2 separate regions of the Homo sapiens genome follow, and region 1 is linked to region 2. The links are contacts of gene promoters, found by promoter capture Hi-C in blood cells and fetal thymus (Javierre and others, 2016). All regions are on one chromosome and are shown on one strand. Each heading gives the region's core, a stretch centred on a gene start or on the middle of the fragment in contact. The rest is flanking DNA. Distances are from core to core; before and after follow the strand shown. Region 1 overlaps LOC105369519 (a long non-coding RNA gene). Region 2 holds the start of NHERF4 (NHERF family PDZ scaffold protein 4).

Region 1 (4,147 bases), core at 1-2,500, 480 kb before region 2:
TTTGTCTTCAGTGTTATTCGGTTTCTCTAAAATGTATTTAACATAGTCTTATTTATTCTGCTCCAGAATTGTTGTGCTGCTATACCTCCGCCTTCTTTTCCTCTTTTCTTTCTTTTTTAATTTTTATTTTTGTAGAGGCAGTGTCTCACTTTGTTGCCCAGGGCGGTCTTGAACTCCTGGGCTCAAGAGCTCCTCCTGCCCAAAGTGTTGAGATTATAGGGATAAGCCACCACTCCTGGCCCCCTCCTTTTTTTCCTGGAAATTTTTTTGGTGCTTATGATGTGCAGTAATAAAAATACGATTTTAAGTGTTGGGGATTAAATAGTGAACAAAAAAGAGAAAGTCACTATCCTCATGATAGTGATATTTTATTTTATTTTATTTACATTCACAGTGCTTGGTTCACAGCACATATGCTAAAACTGGAACAATACAGAGAAGATTAGCACGGCCCCAGCACAAAGATGATGTGCAAATTCATGAAGTGTTCCATATTAAAAAAATAAAATAAAAATAGCAATACATTTACATTTTATTTTATAGCGACAGGGTCTCACTATGTTTCCCAGGCTGGTTTTGAACTCCTGACTTCAAGCGATCCTCCCGCATGAGCCACCATGCCTGGCCTAAGCTTACATTTTAGTTAGAGAAAGAGCCTGGGAATGAAGCTAGCATGGAGAAGAGCAGAGCTGAGATTTAAAGGGAGCAGATCCTGAAGCCTGGTTGAAAGCTGCATCGTTTCCCACCTGAATTCAACCACATTCATTTTCAGTAACACGAGCAGTAACTGCTTCTTGTTGTTTAAGCCAATTTAAATATATTTCTATGTCAATTACAAATGAAAGGGTATTAACTGTTAGGTGCCCAGCCTCAGCCTAATCTAGATGTTCTTTCTCTGCAACTTTGTATCTTCACTTAATTAGTTTACTTGAAAATTAATTAAATTAGGCCTGGTGCAGTGGCTCATGCTTGTAATCCCAGCACTTTGGGAGGCCGCGGCGGGCGGATCATGAGGTCAGGAGATCCAGACCATCCTGGCTAACATGGTGAAAACACGTCTCTACTAAAAATACAAAAAATTAGCCCGGTGTGGTGGCATGCGCCTGTAGTCCCAGCTACTGGAGAGGCTGAGGCAGGAGAAGCACTTGAGCCCAGGAGGCAGAGGTTGTGGTGAGCCGAGATCTCGCCACTGCACTCCAGCCTGGCGACAGAGCAATACTCCATCTCAAAAAATAAATAAATAAAATAAATAAATAAAAAAAAACACTGACACAGTGGGGATGAAGTTTCAATGTAAATTGCAGAGAGGACAACATTCAAACCATGGTACCTAGTCATAGTATTTTACTCTTTTCTTATGCTTTTAATTCCTGAAGTATCTAGACTTTCTAATCCTATTTTATAATACCTTTGTAGTCCTTATATAACATCTGTGTTTTGGTATTTGTTTCAGGTTTTTTCCTAAGTATGTGTCAAGATCCCATTTTCCAAGTCAAAAATGGGATTTTGCTACACATTATTTCATAACCTGCTCTTTGTTTTTCACATGATAAGGAACTTAAAACAACACACATCTTTTTCTGAGGGCAGAAATTTGGGCCCAGCTCACCTAGGTTCTCCGCTTCAGAGCTTTACCAGGCTGCTGTCCGGGTGCTGGCTGGGGCTATGGTCTCATCTGAGGCTCAGCTGGTCTCATCTAAGGCTTAATATTGGCCCCCAAGCTCCCTCAGACTGTTGGCAGAATTCTTCTCCTTATGGTTGTAAGACTAGAACTGGGGTTCATGTTTTCTTGTTGGCTGTCAGCCAGGGATGGCCCTTAGCAACTAGAGACTACAGTAGTTCCTTGTTGAGTGGCCCTGTCACCACAGAGAAGCTTACTTCTTCAAAGCCAGTAATAGACGGAGAGTCTCTGACCCTCTGAGAGGGCCCAGACACTCTTTCAAAGACTTCCACCTGATTTAGTCAGGCCCACCCATGAAAATGCCCCCTTGACTTCAAAATCAACTGACTTAGGACCCTAATTATGTCTGCAAAACCCCCTCACCTTTTTCACAGTCTATTAGCTGGAAGTAAGTTGCAGGTCCTACCGGCGCTCCAGGGGAGGAGGTTACACAGGGTGTGAACACCAGGGAGTGGGACCACAGGGCCCATCCCTGGGTCTATTCATACCATGTTTACCTTTCCATGTCAGTATCTTTTCTTTTCTTGGTTTTTTTTTTTTTTTTTTTTTTTCAGATGGAGTCTCACTTTGCTGGCCCAGGCTGGAGTGCCGTGGCCCCATCCTGGCTCACTGCAACCTCTGCCTCCCAGGTTCAAGTGATTCTCCTGCCTCAGCCTCCTGAGTAGCTGGGACTACAGGCATGTACCACCACACCTGGCTAATTTTTGTATTTTTAATAGAGATGGGGTTTCGCCACGTTGGCCAGGCTGGTCTTGAACTCCTGACCTGCAGGTGATACTGCCCGCCTAGGCCTCCCAAAGTGCTGGGATTTACAGGCACGAGCCACCGTGCACGGCTGTTATTATGTTTTCTACCACCTTCTAATGTTAATGGCCTCACAGCATTCTACTATGTGGATGTGTCAACATTTATTTAATTATTTATCACTAAGCACTGAATAAACATAAACATTTTAGTTTATTCCTTTTTTTCTTACAGACAGCGCTGGGGAGAATGAACGCCTGAGTACTCATGTCTTTATGCACTGTAGTATTATTTCCTTACAACAGACTCCTGAACCTGGAACGGCAGTGTCAAAGGGTTCACAAAATGTTAGACTTCTGAAGCAAATCAGATGGCACCTTTTTTGAATAATGAAGAATCTTTACCCCTGGCATGAGGAGCTGAGGACAACTCCCACTCCACGATGTGAAGCCACAGAGTTTCGAGGTAGTGGTTAATGGTGGTTGTGATTTTTTTGTTTTTGTTTTTGAGACAGAGTCTCTGTCACCCAGGCTGGGAGTGCAGTGGCACAATCTTGGCTCACCACAACCTCTGCCTCCCAGGTTCAAGCGATTCTCCTGCCTCAGCCTCCTGAGTAGCTGGGACAGGTGCCCGCCACCATGCCTGGCTAATTTTTGTATCTTTAGTAGAGACGAGGTTTCACCATGTTTGCCAGGCTGGTCTCGAACTCCTGACCTCAGGTGATCCACCCGCCTTGGCCTCCCAAAGTGCTGGAATTACAGGCGTTGAGCCACCACGCCCAGCTGGTTGTGATGTTCTAATTTGGACTTGGAAGTCAAATAATCGCCCCATGCCCTGTGGTTGCTGTGGTTGCATGCCCTGCCCCGGTGGAAGCTGGGGAAGTGTTTCCTGTCTGTCATCCCACCCATTCACGTGTCCTTATTATGGGTGAAGCCCAGAGAGCGAGAGCTCTCATTGTGGCCAAGGCTGCAGCCTTGCCACTGTCACGGAGCACAGCTCACGTCTCCTCTGAGCCGTTATTTTGTTTGTATGAACCCAGAATGTATGTAAATTCTGATGGGGTAAGCGGGCAGACAAAAAGGTCACTGAAGTGTCCCAAACAGAATCTCATTGTGTACTGGAGAGGAGGCAAAATAATCACTTGCCAGAGGGCGGAGCTTGGTTTTGTGGGACCTGAAGCTTAAATAATTTGGGGAGGCCTCTTTAAGAAAAAGAATCAAATTATGAATACAAAATTAGGATGAGGGTGTTTGAAGGGCCTCATGCAAGTGCGGTGCCTGGGACTTCAGCTTCATTAACTTCGCGTTCAGTCTACGCCTGCTTGCCAGTGGACTGGGTTTGTCCTGCTTGGAGTCTGGTTTTGTTTGTTTCCAAACTTATAAAATTAGATGTCTTTTCTTCTTTCCTTTTGCATTTGCAAGTGTATTAACATTTAAGAATTGAGCAGGCCTTCAATAATATAGCTTCTCTCTCTCTCTCTCTTTTTTTTTTTTTTTTTTTTTTTTTTTTGCTAAGATGACTCTAACCCCTCCCTGCTTCAAATCACGAACTTGCATTATAGGCACACAAAGGATGCTGACTCCCTCCAGCAGCCTCGTTTGCAGTACGGAGCCTGGGGCCCTTAATGGGATAACAGGGAAATGGGGAACTGGAAAGAATCTTCCAGCAGTTGAGTCTGTTTGCCCCAGGCACCATGTTAGATGATTACATTGTGTTCCTTCG
Region 2 (3,919 bases), core at 1,042-3,541:
AGGTGGTGCCCGGGTGGTGGTGTCACTGACAGAGGGGACGGCGGTGTCAGAATACTGGTCAGTGATCCTCAGTGAAGTCCAGCGGAACCTCAATAGCTGGGATCGGGCCCGGGTTCAGCGACACCTTGAGCTCCTACTGCGGGATCTGGAAGATAGCCGGGGTGCCACCCTTAATCCTTGGCGCAAGGCCCAGCTGCTGCGAGTGGAGGGCGAGGTCAGGGCCCTCCTGGAGCAGCTGGGAAGCTCTGGAAGCTGAGACACTGGCGGCAGGCACCTAGCTATGTGACCACTGGCCCTAAACCTTTTCCCTCTGTGGCCTCCTGGCTTGCACTGCTCCCTCTAGAAAGATTCCTTCAGGTCTGGAGGCAGAGGAATGGGCATAGCTGAGCCAGTTGCCCTCCTAGGGCATGTTTGACCAGGACTGAGTCTGGAATCTCCAAGTTAAAGATGGTGAATCAATGCTTCGGGCTTGGAGATGGAACATGCCTCCTCTCCATTCAGCTAGAAGGACCAAAGCATGTGGCATTTGGATGGCCAGAGTGCCCTGAAGCACCACTACCAACCTTGCCTCCCCCTCCTCTCAAAGAGCCTCTGACTGTGTCACCAAGGGGCTCACATCTTATGTCTGCCATGCCAGGGGTGTCGCCATCCAGATGTGTTGGAAGCTTCCCCTCCTGCCTTATGCTCACCTGTGGACACCGAGGATGCCCTCACATTGGTGCTTTCTCCTCATCCTCATGCCCCCTTTGCCACAATGGTATGATGGCTTGGTAGCCCCTCGAGGCAGATGCACCTGACTTGCTGCTATTAAAAAGCCGTGTGCCTTCTACCAATTGTGGCCTCTTCTTTACTGCCTGGTGCTTCCAAGAAAGGGCACTGTTCTTGGTCTTTCTGGTTAAACTACCAACCATGATCTATTGCAAGTGGTTCTTGGGCACTAGGTTCAGAGGCAGTGGAGGCTGGAAGGGCCCATGAACAAGATATTGGCATGGGGGTTGGCCATGCTGGGCTGTATTAGTCCAGTCTCACGCTGCTAATAAAGACATACCCAAGACAGGGTAAGTAATTTATAAAGGAGGCTGGGCATGGTGACTCACGCCCGTAATCCCAGCACTTTGGGAGGCCGAGGTGAGCGGATCACCTGAGGTCAGGAGTTTGAGACCAGCCTGACCGACATGGATAGACCTCGTCTCTACTAAAAATACAAAATTAGCTGGGTGTGATGGCACATGCTTGTAATCCCAGCTACTCGAGAGGCTGAAGCAAGAGTATTGCTTGAACCCAGGAGGTGGAGGTTGCCGTGAGCCGAGATAGTGCCACTGCACTCCAGCCTGGAGAACAAGAGTGAAACTCTGTCAAAAAAAAAATTTATAAACGAAAGAGGTTTAATTGACTCACAGTTCCACATAGCTGGGGAGGCCTCACAATCGTGGCAGAAGGCAAATGAGGAGCAAAGTCACATCTTACATAGCAGCAGGCAAGAGAGTGTGTGCCGGGGAACTCCCCTTTATAAAACCATCAAATCTCATGAGACTTATTCACTATCATGAAAACAGCACGGGAAAACCTGCCCCTGTGATTTAATTACCTCCCACCGGGTACCTCCCATGACACGAGGGAGTTATGGGAGCTGCAATTCAAGATGAGATTTGGGTAGGGACACAGCCAAACCATACTATGGGCCATAGAATTATCACCCTTTTCACACTTACCCCCCAGGCTTGGAGTTAGTGACCAGCAATCTGCCTTTCTCTGCACAGAGGGGCAACTGGGTCAGATTCAGGGTCTCCAGAAAAAGTTGGGGCCCAGGGATAGATTCAGGAGGAACCCACACAGTTTTCCAGAGGATAAGACTCTCAGCGGGGCACGGTGGCTGACGCCTGTAATCCCAGCACTTTGGGAGGCCGATGAGGGCAGATCACCTGAGGTGGGGAGTTTGAGACCAGCCTGACTAATATGGAGAAACCCCATCTCTACTAAAAATACAAAATTAGCCAGGTGTGGTGGTGCATGCCTGTAATCCCAGCTACTCGGGAGGCTGAGGCAGGAGAATTGCTTGAACCTGGGAGGCAGAGGTTATGATGAGCCAAGATCATGCCATTGCACTCCAGCCTGGGCAACAAGAGCTAAACTCGGTCTCAAAAAAAAAAAAAAAAAAAAAAAAAAAAAAAGACTCTCACTCCCGTTAACCATTACCCCACTGCTTCCACAGCGTCTTCAAGGAGGCGGGACCTGGGAGGGGATGGGTGGGAGGATCAGTGGCTGTGATGAACCTTGTCCCTACCCCGGGCACTGGGTTGCTGATCCAGCTATGGAGAAAGCCGCAGGTAGGAGGCCAGGAGAAATCCTCTGCAGGGGACTTTGGGACAGGCAGGGGGCCGACTTGGAGGCTGAAGCTTTGGGACCAGGGCACACTTGATTTTGGGGCTTGGAGCCCTGAGGCAGGTAAACAAGTCAGGAGAAAAGTAATGAGTTGATATGTCTGTCTTCCTGGTCCACACCCTGTACTGATATGCTCAGATTTATGTGCCAAGGACTTGGGGGGAGAGAAAGGGAGGGGACCGCACAATAGTCCTGTGTGTATGGCAGTGAGAAGAGAAGACCCCTTTGGAGCAGAAAGGAGGGGGCATGCCCTGAGTTTGGGGGTTTCCCTGAGTCCTTTTAGTTTATGCCAATGGAAGAGGCACATCTGGGGAGAAGAATGTGACTCTCCTCCTCTCACCCACTTCTTTGCCCAGTAGATCTGCAGGACACAGCCTCGTTAACTCTGTAAGTGCCACGAGGGTTGGGGCAAGGGGAGGAAATAATTGGAGGCAGCGAAGCGCTTCACTGCCATTAGCACCTAAAGGAGATCCTGGGACCCAAGTCCAGCTGCCAGCTTGTACCTGCTTCCCCTGCCTCCTTGCAGGAAGTTTAAGTTTAACCCAAAGCTGGGCATTGATAATCCTGTCCTCTCCCTGGCCGAAGACCACGACCCCTATGGTAACTCCCTCACCCCCTGGCAACCATTCCCTATCCCTGGAGGCACCACGGCTCCACACGGCCTCCGATCTCCTTGGTAACCACTCACTCGGTCTCCCTCTGATAACAGCCTTGGTTGGGAGTAGAGATAGGAGGGGCCGGGTGTTTTCTCCTGTCCCAGTCCCTCTGCCCACGAACCCCACCACCCAACACCCAACCAGGCAGAAACTGCCCAGCACCCTATCAGGACACAGGGTCTGCCAGGCACACGGCGAACCTGTACTTGGGCTGTGCCCTCTCCTCCCCCTTTTCTGCTGCCCACCTCACCCTCCAGATCCCTGGAGCCTGGAGCGGCCTCGCTTCTGTTTACTGAGCAAAGAGGAGGGCAAGAGTTTTGGCTTCCACCTGCAGCAGGAGCTGGGCAGGGCTGGGCATGTGGTGTGCAGGGTGGACCCAGGCACCTCTGCCCAGCGCCAGGGTCTTCAGGAAGGAGACAGGATCCTGGCGGTGAACAATGATGTTGTGGAACACGAAGACTATGCGGTGGTAAGGCTGTGGTCCAGGAGAGCATGCTAGCACCTCAGAAAGAGAAGCGGGTTGCTCAGTCCCCTGGGCAGTATGGCAGCAGGGCACAAGCCTCACTCCCCCACACCCCAGGATTTAGAAGTGCCCAAGTCAGAGGGGTAGGGAAAGCATCTAGAAAGCCGATTCCCGCTGGGCGCAGTGGCTCACGCCTGTAATCCCAGCACTTTGGGAGGCCAAGGCAGGTGGATCACCCAAGGTCAGGAGTTCAAGACCAGCCTGGCCAACATGGCAAGACCCTGTCTCTACTAAAAATACAGAAATTAGCTGGGCGTGGTGGCAGGCGCCTGTAATCCCAGCTACTCGGGAGGGCTGAGGCAGGAGAATCACTTGAACATGGGAGGCGGAGGTTGCGGTGAGCTGAGATCGCACCATT

The links. The method cuts DNA at HindIII sites, captures the fragments that hold promoters and counts their contacts. A CHiCAGO score of 5 or more calls a contact.
Region 1: a fragment that was not itself captured here is called in contact with the fragment with the promoter of NHERF4 in region 2 in 1 of 17 cell types (naive B cells); the score reaches 5.2 in naive B cells.

Annotation. Positions count from the first base shown.
Region 1 is chr11:118,701,949-118,706,095 of GRCh38, forward strand. It overlaps LOC105369519 (a long non-coding RNA gene), which reads left to right. Exons shown (of 4, transcript XR_007062909.1): 3 at 2,660-2,890. It also overlaps the pseudogene RNU6-376P. Among named protein-coding and RNA genes, the nearest start is that of TREH, 24 kb to the left of the region's middle. RefSeq lists an enhancer at 2,766-3,267. The HindIII fragment of the contact is 1,242 bases long and covers 630-1,871 here.
Region 2 is chr11:119,183,184-119,187,102 of GRCh38, forward strand. NHERF4 (NHERF family PDZ scaffold protein 4) reads left to right here and starts at 2,292. Exons shown (of 11, transcript NM_001168468.2): 1 at 2,292-2,327; 2 at 2,742-2,769; 3 at 2,909-2,982; 4 at 3,296-3,507. The coding sequence starts at 2,312. It overlaps NLRX1 (NLR family member X1), which reads left to right. Exons shown (of 10, transcript NM_001282144.2): 10 at 1-833. The coding sequence ends at 256. The HindIII fragment of the contact is 1,731 bases long and covers 664-2,394 here.